Linked DNA regions of Homo sapiens: region 2 is linked to region 1. The links are contacts of gene promoters, found by promoter capture Hi-C in human tissues and cell types (Jung and others, 2019). All regions are on one chromosome and are shown on one strand. The core of a region is centred on a gene start or on the middle of the fragment in contact, and the rest is flanking DNA. Distances in the headings are between cores, read along the strand shown.

Region 1 (7,327 bases), core at 258-2,757:
GTCGCTGGAGGGAGAGGGAGCCCTTGGGGGACTATGTGAAGTAGGGGAGAGTGGGTGACAGGCCATTACCATGATATCTCAATCCTTCCCACACTCCTGTAACGAATGTACAACTGTCCTCCCTGCAAAAGAAACACTGAGGCTGCGAGAGGGGCAAGACTTGCCTGAGCTAACTGGAGCAGAAGTAGCAGAGGCAGGGTTTGAACCCAGCTCTCACTACCTGTCCCTTGGGACAGGGCAACAGCTTTCTCTATGTGGACACACTGGTGATGGATCCCCCGTCCTGCCTGCCTGCCTGCCTATGGTGGCCTATGCTGCCTGCCCCTGGTGAGTCCAGGAGGGGCAATCCAGTGACTGGCAGATCCTTTCTGGGGAGTGTTTCTAGAAGGGACCGTGGGTCTGGACAAGCCATAACAGGAAGTAGCCAAGCTGGGCAAGGGCTTCCCCAGCCCAGGCCTAACTACTGCCCATCGATCCAGGCAGAAGGCGGGGTTAGAGACTGCCCTGGGAGATTGGGGGTCTGGGTCCCCTCTGATGAGAGCTCTGGTCTCTCCCTATAAACACACACTCCTATCACAGACACACACATAACACACATGCACATAAATCCACATCAAGCATGCACACACATCCATCATACACACATACGACACACACATGCACCCCTGCACACACACACTACGCTTACATATACCTTTGTGGGATGTAGAGCCATTCCTCCAGAAGCCCATCCATGTACCCCAGATGAAACCACCCAACACCAATTCTTACCTTGTTACATATGGTGAAATCAAGGCATAGACCGAAGTGCTGTGGTTAAGAGCTGTTACTCTCCGAAGTCAGGCGATCTGGGTACAAATCCTGGCTCTGCCAAACCCCTGCCACGGTGCTTTAGGTAAATGACAGCTCCTTTCTGTGGCTTAGTTTCTCCACCTGTAAAATGAGAATAAGAACAGACTCTGCACTTATGGGGTCAGCCCAGATCTCCTCCTAGGGAGACTGCGAGTGCCTGGGCCTCAGTTTTCTCTTCTGTAAAATGGGGATATTGTGCCCAGTTCGAGCAGAGTGGCTTGAAGAGTCACCTGAGATAGGATGTGAAGTGGCCGCGGTGAGGTGCCCAATACACGTGGCGCGCACTGCTCAGGAAGCTTTCCTTGGAGGGCTGGATCCCGCAAAGGTGTCGAAAAAGGATGAGTCCCGGATATCATTCGCTCAGGTGAGGTGGGTTCGGGTCCCGGCTGCGTCTGGGACCGTGGCCCGGGCCTCAGTTTCCCAGTCTACAGCCCGTGGGAGGACACCTCGGAGCTGGCACCCCGCCCCCAAAAGGGCCCCGCGGCGCAGGGCGTGGGGCTCAGGTGGACACCTGGCGGGCCTCCTGGCGGGGGCGCCCTGGCCGCCCGGGCCCCTCCGGGCTCCTTCCGGGTTGGCAGCGGCGGCGCAGGGGGCGGGGGGCAGCGCAGAGGGGCCGGGCGAGGCCGGGAGCGCGCGCCCCCGCCCCCGCCCGCCCGCCTCCTGCCCGCCCTCCGGCCGCGGAGCTGGAAACCGGGCTCCGCGCGTCCGGGGCGGCTGGCGGCGCGGGCAGGCAGGCGGGGAGGACAGGCTGGGGGCGGCGACCGCGAGGGGCCGCGCGCGGAGGGCGCCTGGTGCAGCATGGGCGGCCCGCGGGCTTGGGCGCTGCTCTGCCTCGGGCTCCTGCTCCCGGGAGGCGGCGCTGCGTGGAGCATCGGGGCAGCTCCGTTCTCCGGACGCAGGTAAGAGCTCCCGGCGCCTTTGCACCCCGCTGGCCGAGGGTCCCGGCGCGCACACGCCCCCACCTCCAGGAAGGGCTGGGATTGGAGGGCGATCCAGTCCCCAGCCCGGGTGAGGGCAGGGACACGGCCATCCCGCGGTCCGGCTGAGGCTCCCGCGAGTGCGGGGTCCCCTACTCCATGTGTCGGAGCTGGCTGCCTCCCCTACTCCCTCCCTTTCAACCCAGGAGCTCGAGAGGAGGGGGAAGGGGCGCAACGAGGGCGAAGCCCTGGCCCTTCTGTTCCCCTGTCCCTAGGGCCCCTCCCCCTGCACTTGGGAAAGGCCTATGACACCCCCTAGCCGACTCTTCTCGGACCCTCTCTCCCCTTTTCCCTGTTCCTGTTTTTTTGCTTTGTTTTGTTTTTTGTTTGTTTGTTTTGTACCCAGGCTATTTATCTCCCTCGGAGGAGGGACTGGGGTGGAGTCTCACAGCCCAGTGGGTCAGTGTCGGAGATACCCCAGGGACCTGGCATTTTGGACAGAGAAAAGAGGGAGCACAGTCTTCCTTCTGCTCTCCTAGCGGCGGGGAACCTCCTCCCTGCTGGCCTTTACGGAGGAGCTCCCAGAACCTGACATGGTGGGGCCCATTATTATATATAGTGTCCTCATCAATCCTTGAAGGACCGAATGAGGTAGGGAAAACTGTCCCCATTCAACGGTTAAGCAAACTGAGACCCTAGGGAATTGGCATCATCTTTTAGCCTCATGGGCTATTCACTGAAGAGCTAGGTTGCAAATCTGCCCTTCTATCCTTGATGACAGTGTTTGAACCTGTCCTGGCCTCTGTCCTGGCTGCAGCCCCAGCGAGGGTCCCCTCCTAAAGGCCAGCCGCCGTTGTCCAAGGCAGACAATGTGGAGTAGCCAGGCCTCTCCAGGCCTTTTCATCCCATTCAAAGGCCTGCGCGGCCCCCACCCCCTACGGCCTCAATTCTTTAATTCTTTTCAGAAATTCTCCTTTCCCAGTGGTCAGGGGCCAGCATGCCCCTGCTGGGCTAGCAAGAGCAGTTGACATGGGCAGGGCTGGAGGACGGAGGTGGTTGAAGCATCAGAGGCCAGAAGAGCAGTTGTCTGAGACAGGGGTGGACGTGTGGCAGATGTTACAGCCACCACCTATTGTGTGCAGACAACAGTTAGCCTGAGTCGGCTCCGTTACCTGCATTCATCAGCTCCAGAATCCTCCCAGCTGCTTGGAGGTATGCTCTTTATGATTCTGTTTCATAGAGGAGGAAGATGAGGCTCAGAGAGGGAACATGACCTGCCCAGAGCATGGAAGTGAGCCGCCAGGATCCCAGATGCTAAGAGGACAGAGACTATGAACTCAGAAATCCCACTGTTAGGCTCAGGATGATGGTGGCGACAGCTTAAGGCCCAGACCGCCCTGCAGCCAGTTCAAGGCAGGGCTTCCCAGCCTGGGCTCCTCACCTCCCAGGGTCTCCTGGGTGGGAACAGGATGATGGCTATAACCAGGTATCTGGTGGTCACTGGGGACTGTCACTCCATGTGTTGACAGAAGCCTATCACAGTAGCCTGAGCATCCCAAAAACCCTGTGGGCAACACTATTGCACCCATTGTACAGATACGGAGGCTGAGGCCTACAGAGGACAAGTGGCACCTCAGTCCAGACCAGTCGATTTCCAAATCCAGTGGCTTTTTCTCTCCAGCAGCCTTGCTGGAAGAGGGAAAGAGGTTGTCGGCTTGGGGGCACCAGGAAAGGTTTGCAGTCATGATTAGGAGTTAGGGGCTCCAGCCTTGGACAGAATGGAGACAGAATTCCTTGCTCTTACAGGCTTGATGTGTGACCTCAAGTGGGTCACTTCCTGGCCATGGGTCTCAGTTTTGCTCTCAGTTTCCTTCTTTCCTCGTGGGAAGGACCAGCACCGGGCCTCACCTGCAGTGGTTCCTGCTATCAATCATGTCACATGGGGGTAGGGACCTGGAGCTTGAGGAGTCTGTGGGCTACCAGAACCTCCACTTGTGGCCCCATCCCCACGTTGCTGGAGACAGCATGGGGGTGTCATGCCCTGTCAGCCTTCCTGCCACCCACACCCCAGCACCCCAGGCACCCCTTGGCAGCCAAGGGACCAGACGCAGAAAAGAGGCTTTGTCCTGGGGAGGGGGTGGCCTGGGAAGGCATCCAGGGGGCCGCCCCTTGCCCCAGGAAGGTGGTGACACTTGGAGACCCCCGGAACCAGGGTGCCCAAGGGCTATGCAGAGCTGCCTTGGCTTGCCCCTGCCCCTGGGGCTGCTTCCTGCCCCGCTGAGGTCCTTCTAAGCCTGGAGTCTGCTTCCTTTAACCACTCATCTCAGCGTTTCAGCTGAGGGTTCAAGCCTTCACCAGCCCAGATCTCTCGCCCCTGCAGCACCGGCTTCCTTCCGGCAAATCCTAGGATCAGGGAGAATGGAGGGCTCTAAAATGGAGGGGATCTGCCCCAGCCTCTGTCTAGGGGGCTGCAATCCCAGCTGATGCCCACAGGGGTGACCTGGGTAGGTGCTTTCTCTTGGAGCCTGTTTCCCCCTCTGTAAAATGCAGAACCTGATAATCCCTATTCCAAGGGGAAGACCTTGTGAAGAAGGTACTGTGCTGGTGTCCCCAATCCCCAGGGAAGCCCCTGGACCAAGCTGCTGGGTGTGGGGCCCATGTCTGGGCCTGAGCCCCTCAGTCCCGGAACAGGAATGAACAATAGCTGTTAGCGCTGTGCTAAGGGATTTGAGTGAAGCTTCCCCCGCTGGAGGAAATTCTGCTGTCCCCATTTGCAGATGGACAAAATGAGGTCCAGAGAGGGTCAGGGCCTTGTCCAAGGTCACCGATGTAGGAAGCAGCAGAGCCAGGACTGGAACTTCGCCCCTACTGCGGGGCTCTGGCTCTCATCATACCACCCCTGCCCGCCCGGTCCTTTCTTTCTTCTCCTTTTCATCACAGCCCTTGGCCCCGGGCCCGCTTGGCTGCCTCCTGCAATTAGCCCCTATCACTGTTCCGGATCGCAGCCCTGGGCCCTACAGAGACAAAGTCCCCTGGGCCCCTCGTGGCAGGGGGTGGAGTGTGGGTGTAGGTGGGGGGCCTTTGTGGGAGTGGCCGGTGCCAGGCTGAGCTGGTCTGGCCTGTTTCTCCCCTCCTGGAGGCCTCTGGGGGCCTGGAGGTGCTGAGTGGGCAGAAGTGTTGGGCCCAGGAGGGAAGTGCCGCCTCTTCCCAGCCCCTGCCCTCACCAACCCCACTGCCCAGCCTCATCCAGCTCTTGGGCAGCTTATCAATGACCACACCCCAGGGAAGGAAGCCCCCAGGGGCTGCAGGGATGGAGCACATGGGGATGGGTCCCTTCATCTGTGGAAACCTCGGGTCCCAGCTCCTCTGGCCGGAGCTGCTGCCTGTTCTCCATCATTCAGTCATTCAACAAACATCGCTGAGCGTCCTCAGGCTGAGCCCTACACAAACTTGGTCCCAGCTCATGCCCTCCTCCAGCACCTGCGTGAGTGAGTAAAGCCCAGGGCTATTGTGAGTGGCTAATGGGTGGTGCCCAACCCCTGCCTGGGCCTGAGGGCTGAGACCCAAAGGATGAATAAGAGTTGGCTGGAGCAAGAGGGAGGGGCTTTCCAGGCAGAGGGATCTTCATATGCTAAGATCAGAGGTGGGAGGAGGGGCTGCATGAGTGTGCAGGAGAGGTGAGCAGAATAAGAAGTGAAGGGCAGCGCTTGCAGGGCTATAGGGAGTCATGGTGGGCTGCGGACTCCACAGTGGGTGGTGGCAACATTAGGTCTGCACTTTAGAAAGAGCCTCCTGCTACCCCTGGAAGGTGGATAGAGGTGCAGGAGGGTGGCAGGGCCAGGCTGGGACCCTGTGGAGGAGCTCGGGCTGATGCTAGGAGTCCTGGGGCTGGGGTCCTCAAGGTGGGGGATGGGGTAATTATTAGTGATCCCCAGGTGGAGGGGGCAAGGGACTAAACCTGAACTCCACATGGCATGAGTGTCCTCTCCTGTCCAAAAGGTCTGGCTAGCCGGCCACCAGCTCCATGTCTCCTAAGGAGAGGATTCAAGCACAGTCCAGATTATGGCAACCAGGCAGGGACCCACATGGCAAATTTTTTTTTTTTTTTTTTTTGAGACGGAGTTTTGCTCCTGTTGCCCAGGCTGGAGTGCAATGGCGCGATCTTGGCTCACCGCAATCTCTGCCTCCTGGGTTTAAGCGATTCTCCTGCCTGGTATTACAGGCATGCACCACCATGCCTGGCTAATTTTGTATTTTTAGTAGAGATGGGGTTTCTCCATGTTGGTCAGGCTGGTCTCGAACTCCCGACCTCAGGTGATCCACCTGCCTCAGCCTCCCAAAGTGTTGCGATTACAGGCTTGAGCCACTGCGCCCGGCCAACAATTTTTTTTAAGAGACAAAGTGTCACTCTATTGCCCAGGCTGTAGTGCAGTGGCGTGAATATAGCTCATTACAGCCTCAAACTCCTGAGCTGAAACGATCCTCATCTCAGCCTCCCAAGTAGCTGTGACTACAGGCAAGCACCAATGGTAGAGATTTTAATTAAGGAAGAAGAAGGAAAAATACTGTTTTTTTTCTCTAGCTCCTCCCTGGTAAAAAGAAGGACAGCTCTGGCCATTGTGGACCATCACAGGCCCACCTCTCCCGGCCTAGTCTGGGGGCTGGGCATGTGAGGGCTGTTGTCCACGTGTGTGTGTGTGAGGGCAGATGGCTCTGTGCGTGCCTGTATAGATATGTGTGAGAAGATGGCCAACAGTACCCTGCTGGGCCTGCCTTCACCTGTTTGTGTACATGTGAGAAGTGTGTGTGTGTGTACACATGTGCCTGCATGTGCATGGATGTACATGAATGAGAGCACTGTGGGGCCGTGTGTGGACATGCCCAGAGATCACAGCTTCAGCCTATATGCGTCCATGCGAGAGGGCATGCGTGTGTGTGTGCATGTGCAGGTGTGTCAGTGTGTGTGCAAGTGTGAACGCATTTGCAGGGAGAAGGTTTGACTGTGACTGTGTGCCCCTCTGGGCCTGCTTTGGTCTGTCTATGTCCATGTGACAGAGCCGATGAGTGTGTGTATGTGAATGTGTGAGGGCACAGAGTCCTGTATCTGCAGGTATGGACTTGTGTGCAGGGAGGACGGTCATTTCTGTGATTAAGTGTCCTGCTGGATTTGCCTTAGCCTGTCTGTGTGCGTTTGTGTGCATGTATGGAGCTCTGTGTTTATGTGGATCTGTGTGTGCACACGGAGGCCCGTGTGTCCATGCGTTGTGTGTACATATGCCTATGTGTGTGTGCACGTGCTCACTGCAGTGCGTATTTGCCCTGTGTGCCTGTGTGTGCATGTGTGTGCGTGTATCTGTGTGTTTGTGTGGATCTGTGTGCATATGCATGAACATGTGTGTCCATGCATTGTGTGTACATATGCCTGTGTGTGTCTGTGTGTACGTGCTCACTGCCATGCATATTTGCTCCTGTGTGCCTGTGTGTGCATGTGTGTGCGTGCATTTGCGTGTGCAGGCACTGTGTGTTTGCGAGCATCTGCTCACTGGCATAGTGTATTC
Region 2 (7,459 bases), core at 2,115-4,614, 95 kb before region 1:
CAATACCATGTCTTCACTGCTGTGGGCTGAAATTCACCTTCTCTGAAATGACACATCCCCGTGTACCATTTATACTTTTTTTTTTTTTTTTTTTTTTGAGACAGAGTTTTGCTCTTGTTGCCCAGGCTGGAGTGCAGTGGTGTGATCTCAGCTCACTGCAACCTCTGCCTTCTGGTTTCAAGAGATTCTCCTGCCTCAGCCTCCCAAGTAGCTGGATTACAGGTGCCCACAACCGTGCCCAGCTAATTTTTGTATTTTTAGTAGAGACGGGGTTCACCATGTTGGCCAGGCTGGTCTCAAACTCCTGACCTTGTGATTCGCCTGCCTCGGCTTCCCAAAGTGCTGGGATTACAGGCATGAGCCACCACACTTGGCTGTGTACCATTTATACTTTACAGCTAAAGTGAAAATTCCAACTTTTGTTGATAGCCAAAGCAATATTGAAATGAACATTAATAGGCCAGGTGAGGTGGCTCATGCTTATAATCCCAGCACTTTGGGAGACCAAGGTGGGAGGATCGCTAGAGCCAAGGAGTTCAAGACTAGCCTGGGCAACATAGGGAGACCCTGTCTTTACAGAAAACTTAAAAATTCACCAGGTATGGTAGCATGTGCCTATGGTCCCAGCTACTCAGGAGGATTGCTTGAGCTCAGGAGGTTGAGGCTGAGCTCGCATCACAGGCACCCTTGTTTTACTTGATTGTACTTTTATTTGTGGAAGAGTGCTGATGGAATTTATGGAGGCTTTACCTCTTTAAGCCTCTCCTTGGTAGCCACTGAAAAAAGCCATATATTTCAACAATCTTCCCCACACCTAGCACAGTGGAGAGTGTAAAAGTGCTTGCTAAGTATTCTTTCTTGGCTGGGTGTGGTGGCTCATGCCTGTAATCCCAACACTTTGGGAGGCCAAGATGGGCAGATCGCTTGAGCCCACGAGTTCAACGCCAGCCTGGGCAATGTGGTGAAACCCTGTCTCTACCAAAAATACAAAAATTAGCCAGGTGTGATGGGCATGTAGCCTGTAGTCCAGCTACTTGGGAGGCTAAGGCAGGAGAATCGCTTGAACCCAGGAGGCGGAGGTTGCGGTAAGCCTAGATTGCGCCATTGCACTTTAGTCTGGGCGATGAGAGTGAAACCCTGTCTCAAAAGACAAAATTCTTTCTTGATGCCATGAAGTCTTATCTCTTCCTCTCTTCCCATAAGAGACAACACAAGCTGGTGGAAAGATGGAAAGAATGTGGACATCTGAGTCACACCCAGTTAGGTTTGAATCATTATCTGCTTAATAGCTTTAGGCACAATGACTCTCAGTTGTGCCTGGGTTTCCTCATTGGTGCCTTCCAGAGTTTTTTTTGAAGATTAAATGAATAAAATGCATGCTGCCCTAAGTCCTAGCACATATCAGGTAGACATGAAAGTACCAACAGGTATTGTGATGGTATGCTCTCCCCAGGGAATGGACTACCGTTAGTATGTCCCTGTCATCTAATTCCTAGAATATGTTATTCATAACCTGCATTTTATTTCTGCCCATCTCTTTTTTATCTAACTGACCATGGGTCTTAGGAGCAGGCATCAGCTGCTGCAGTGGCTGCTCCCTGTGGCCTGTTGCAGCACTGAACTCGGTGAACACAAGAGGCCCCACGTTTGTTTGTTGTTTGTTTGTGACAGGGTCTTGCTCTGTTGCCCAGGCTGGAGTGCAGTGGCACGATCATGGATCACTGCAGCCTTGACCTCCCAGACTCAAGTGATCCTCCCACCTCAGTGTCCCAAGTAGCTGGGACAACAGGCGCACACTACTATGCCTGGCAAATATTTTTACTTTTTGTAGAGATGGAGTCTTGCTATGTTGCCCAGGCTGGTCTCAAACTCCTGGGCTCAAGCAATCCTCCCACCTCGGCCTCCCAAAGTACTAGGATTCCAGGTGTGAGCCACTCTGCCTGGCTCCCATGTTTGTTCCTACAATGAGGTTTTATGTACTCAATTATTTTTTGGTTTTTGCCAGTGGGTATTATTTAATTTTCCATTAAAAAAATACAGACTTTCTGAACCAAATGGATATCAGTTCAGTCACAGATACAAATGTTCTAAAGCACAGTTGTGTAAAGCACACTAGGGACTTAAAAAGGAAAACTCATTCAAATTGATAGGGATGACTTTACTGAAAATCTTTATACCAGCACTTGCCTATAAGGAAGAAATAGCCCCTCAATCTTATGATGTAATTGGGAATCTGAGTTATAAACCTAAGAGAAAATTGCAGACCAGCACACCAATCATATAAATAAGTGTTGAATTATGAGGTAGAGTGTTGTGAGTTTCTGAAGACAAGAGGACTCAGTAAAGATTGTGGAAATTGGAAGAAAGGTGGCTGGTGGCTGAATGGGTCAGGGAACAGCAGGACAGAGGCTTGGAGGAAGCACAGAATTGATGAGTGTGTGGGTTGGGATCCAGGCTTCCTGAGTAGAGGAGTGGACAAAAAGGAACCAGGTCAGACCTGGAAAGCAAGAGTTAATTAGATGGGACTGATATGCTGAAAGCCCTAGTTTAGGAAGAGAAGCAAGTCCAGTGTCATTTACAGGACGGATCAAAGGAAGAAAGTTTGGGGAAGAGAGGATGCGTGTAGATTTCTAAACTCAAGGGATAAGGGCCTGGGCTATCATGGCAGCAGTGAGACAAGACAGGAAGGATTAAGTCCAAGATGCACTTAGGAAGAAGACAGAACTTGTTGACAAGTGGAATATGTAAGGGATAAAACAGCAGGAAGAGGTTCCTTGCCTGGGATATTTGTGGTGTCCCTGAAAAAAAAAGTCCAAGTCAACAAACGAGCTTTTCTTCCCAGGGACACAGCAGTTATCATTCCTCTTGAACTTGGACTGACCTTTTACCAAGTAATGTGTACTAGTTGTTTATTGCTGTGTAATGAGCCATCCCCAGCCGCAGTGACTTAAGCGCCAACAGTTTATCATTTCTCCCAGTTCTCTGGGTCGACTGAGTTTCAGCTGAGTGGTTCTTCTGCTGCTGTCACCTGGGCTTAGTGAGGTGCCTGCATTCAACTGGGAGCTCTGCTGGCATTCAAGGTGGCTTCAGACCTCTATCCAGTGACTTCTCTCAACAGCAGGGTATTCAGACTTCTTATACGGTGGCTGGCTTCCAAGAGAGAAGCAGCAGAAGCTGCCATTCCTCTTAAGGCATGAACTCAGAAGAAGTCCACCACATTCTATGGATCAAAGCAAGTGGCAAGGCCCGATTTAAGAAGTGGGGAAATCTATTAAAGTGGGAGCAACACACATGTACAGGGAGGGGAGAAATTACTAGAGCCTCTTTTGACTCTTTATCACATTAACTCACCAGAAACTAAGTTTCAGAGAAGGAACTCCCACCAGGAGGGAACTACTGCTGTGATAGATCCTGGCCTTATGGGATCAGGATTTTTAGGAACTCTTACTACCTCCCCCTAAGGGCAGAATTCCACAGAGGAAGAAAAAGCTGTGCTTACTTATTTATTTGGGGGTGTTGCTGTAAGACTCGGGGGCACAATTAAGACTGTTGGAAGAATCAGAGTGACTGAAAAGGAAGTTTATGTTTAGAAATAAAGTTACAGAGGTAGTGTGGGGCCATATCATGAGAAGGGGTTGGACCAAGATGGCAGCTGTCAGATTTGGAACGGAAGTTGCAGATGAACAGCACAGGGTGCAGTGAGCTTACGGTCACGGGTCTGAGGGTGTGGATGAATCCACACTTAACCTGTTGATGCTCTGAAAGAAGTAGGATACCAGCTGCAGCGTCTCAGATGTACATAGTTTTTCTTTCCATGGAGGGGAGAAATCAGCTACTGAGGCACCAGTGTGGGGTCCTTGAGGCAGAAGATAGTATTGACACAGAGTTAAATGACATTTAAAATCAGCAGAGAAGCACTTTGGGAGGCTGAGGCAGGAGGATCACTGGAGGCCACAAGTTTGAGACAAGCCTGGGCAACATAGTGAGACCCCATCTCTACAAGATACACAAATAATTAGCCAGCCATGGTAGTACACACTGGTAGTCCCAGCTACTCGGGAGGCTGAGATGGGAAGATCACTTGAGCTCAGGAGTTCAAGACTGCAGTGAGTATGATTGTATCACTGCACTCCAGCCTGGGCAACAGAGTGAGACCCTGTCTCTATTAAAAAAAAAAAAAAAAATTAGGCCGGGTGCGGTGGCTCACGCCTGTAATCCCAGCACTTTGGGAGGCCGAGGCGGGCGGATCATGAGGTCAGGAGATCGAGACCATCCTGGCTAACACAGTGAAACCCCGTCTCTACTAAAAAAATACAAAAAATTAGCCGGGCGTGGTGGCGGGCGCCTGTAGTCCCAGCTACGCGGGAGGCTGAGGCAGGAGAATGGCGTGAACCCGGGAGGCAGAGCTTGCAGTGAGCTGAGATCGCGCCACTGCACTCCAGCCTGGGCGACAGAGCGAGACTCCGTCTCAAAAAAAAAAAAAAAAAAAAAAAATTAGCAGAGGAGTTACATCATTTCTGAAGAAGCAGATTTTACTTAGGAAAAAAAAAAAAGGAGCTCTGCAGAGCCTTGGAAAGAGTTTTTTAGTTTTTTAAGACATAGGACAAGAACTTAGCATCTGGTTTCTTAAAGCAAATATCCCAGATCTGGTGAGAGCAGTGGAATAGAAAACATAATAATAGTCAGGGCTGCTTCTTAGTGAATTACCAGCTGAAGATTTAGATTCAAACTGAGCCTTTACTATGATGGCCGTGCCTTCTGTCTTCGATAATGATTTGGTTACCAGGACTAGAACTCATTCAAGCTAACTTGAGCAAAAGAAATCAATTTGAAGACCATTGGGATGTATCACAGAACCCAAACCCTGTATCCCAAGAAACTAGAAAGAAAGCAGGGACTTTCACTATCTGTCTCTGTGGCCACTTCATCTCCCTTCTCTGCCTCTCTCTCAGCTTGTTATCCATCCTTCTTCCTCTTCGTGGACCAGCAGAATTGGCTCATTCATCCACTCACGTGGCTCAAACTTGAGTTTGGTTGCCTCAACTCCTACTTGACAAATCCCTACAATTTCAGTGCTTGCATTCACTGAGCGGATCCCAATTCCAGCTTCCTAAGAAAGAGAATCTGGTGGCCCCAGTGTGAGGCAGCTGTGGCCAGAGGATGGAGCCCTTTGTCTTGTCCCCAGCCAGCAGTAGTTATGGGAGCAGATGCTCTGAGAAGGTGCTGTGGGTAATAGGTGGTTCTCAAAGAACAGCTGTCAGCCATGGAGGCCCCCATGGAGGTGTGTGCAGTACCTTCACAATGAAGCCACAGTTATATTCAAATGTAACAATGTTTAGTGGGCCTGCCTGATTGCTTCCCAGTTGTTTCTTATGATAGTAAAAGAACAATAGTTCCTGGGTTAATGTGAATGGAGGACCTTCTCTCTTTAACTCCTCCAAAATTTTTATCTTCAACATCTGAATATTTGTAATTAATTTTCACAAGTTTTGAAGCCTCAGCTAAGATAAACAAGGGGTCCATTTGTATGTTAAGATAATTTTTTAAAAATTGAAAGTGATGAAGCCTCTTTGGTAAGAGGAAAAATGCATGACCAAGCCACAAGGATTTCAAAGTAAGCTTGAAATGAAAAAGGAATTTGAAGACAAATATCCTTTTTCAAATTGGCTTTTCCTCCCTGCTTCTGGGAAGCGCTAAGGGTGGGACACGATCTAGAAATCCACTCAGTTGAGTAGTAATGCTTTTGAAGCAACATGACGTGTCTTCTCCGACTAGACTTCGAGCCACACTTTCCAGGACAAGTCAGAGGCAGTGGCCCCCTCAGAGGCTGACTGGGACCGCAGAGGCTTCCCTCGTGGTGAACAGAGTGTTGAGGGACTAATGTGTTTGAGAATTCAGTCTTGAATCTCAGGTCTCAGGGAGTCACTTTCATTTAGTTGCCCAGACTGGTCCTATAAGAAAAGGGGTCAGAGACATGAAAAACAAAAACAAAAACCCATGGAATGGGAGTCGGCAATCCTGGAGCTTACCCTGGCTCTCCATTCTGCCTTATGTGTGCCCACACAAGGCCTTTAACCTTGTTAGACTGGTTTCTTCTTTGTCCAGTAGGAATAATATCATCTGTCCTGCCTCCCTGAAGGGGCTAGAGCTTCCTGTGAGCTGACTTATGTGAAAATGTGCTGTATGCTATACAGATGTAAGAGATTAATATTTTAATATCCGGAATCAAACCGTTTTCTGAGGTGGCTGCCTTTGATTTTTGTCTTTTAAATCAGCCTATTTTATTTTTCTGTTATTCAGCAAGTTGTTCTTGTTTGTGTGGTGAATGATGAAAGCCTTATTGTATATAATGATGACAAACACTATTTATTCAGCACATTCTATTCTGCTAGGCCTTGTGGTATTTACTTTATTTACATTATCTCATTTTATTTCTCACAAGAACCCTTTGAGGTCCGTATTGATTCTCATTCCGCTGTTGATGAAACTGAGCTGAGAAGGGCTGTGATGGAGAGGCCAGAATTTACCCTAGGGTTTGTCTCACTGTAAAAGGCCACCTGCTCCTGGACACATGGTGGTGGCACCAGTGCCCTTCAGAACATTATCAAGTCCTAGGAAGGGAGCAAGCAAAACCCACTCCTGAGCCACAGTGTGGATGGCAGAAAGTGAGGAGCATAATGGCCCTCCCTCTTATAGAAGCTGCATGTTCTGTTTTTCATACGGTTCTTATAAGCTCCACACTTTTGTTCTAAGCCTAGGAAGCAGCAAATTAAGAAGAGGTTAAGCAAAGACTGCAGGCATTGACAGTAATAAGAAGTAGATGCCCACAAAGACCCCTTTCAGTTCTAATGTTCTGAGGTTGCAGCAGCCTTGACAGCAACTGTTTTAGACTGAATGTTTGTCCCCCACCCACCCCCACCATTCTTATGTTGAAGCCCTAACCCTGCAATGTGATGGTATTTGGAGATGAGGCCCTTGGGGAGGTAATTAGGCTTAGATGAGGTCATGAGAGTGGGACTCCCAGGATGGGATTAGTGTCCCCATAAGGAGAGGAAGAGGGCTGGGTGCAGTGGCTCATGCCTGTAATCCCAGTACTTTGGGAGGCTGAGGCAGGTGGATCACCTGAGGTCAGGAGTTCGAGACCAGCCTGGCCAACATGGTGAAACCCCATCTCTACTAAAAATACAAAAAAATTAGCTAGGCATGGTGGCGGGCACCTGTAACCCCAGCTACTCGGGAGGCTGAGGCAGGAGAATCACTTGAACCCAGTGGGTGGAGGTTGCAGTGAACCAAGATCACACCATTGTACTCCAGCCTGTGCAACAAGAGTGAAACTCCGTGTCAAAAAAAAAAAAAAAAAAAAGGAGCGGAAGAGAAATCAGAGCTACATCTCCCTCTGCCATGTGCGGACACAGCAAGAAGGTTTTGGTCTGAAAGCCAGGAAGAGGGCCCTCATCAG

The links. The method cuts DNA at HindIII sites, captures the fragments that hold promoters and counts their contacts. A contact is called where the count stands out against the background at its distance.
Region 2: a fragment that was not itself captured here is called in contact with the fragment with the promoter of EMID1 in region 1 in 2 of the 25 tissues and cell types used here (IMR-90 fibroblasts and heart right ventricle).

Annotation. Positions count from the first base shown.
Region 1 is chr22:29,204,389-29,211,715 of GRCh38, forward strand. EMID1 (EMI domain containing 1) reads left to right here and starts at 1,508. Exons shown (of 15, transcript NM_133455.4): 1 at 1,508-1,751. The coding sequence starts at 1,651. It overlaps LOC101929638 (a long non-coding RNA gene), which reads right to left and starts at 1,444. Exons shown (of 5, transcript XR_938134.3): 1 at 1,083-1,444; 2 at 772-933. RefSeq lists silencers at 1,603-1,692, 1,703-1,862, 1,883-1,942. The HindIII fragment of the contact is 14,358 bases long and covers 1-7,327 here.
Region 2 is chr22:29,107,144-29,114,602 of GRCh38, forward strand. All of the region lies in intron 3 of KREMEN1 (kringle containing transmembrane protein 1), which reads left to right. Among named protein-coding and RNA genes, the nearest start is that of KREMEN1, 38 kb to the left of the region's middle. The HindIII fragment of the contact is 6,682 bases long and covers 24-6,705 here.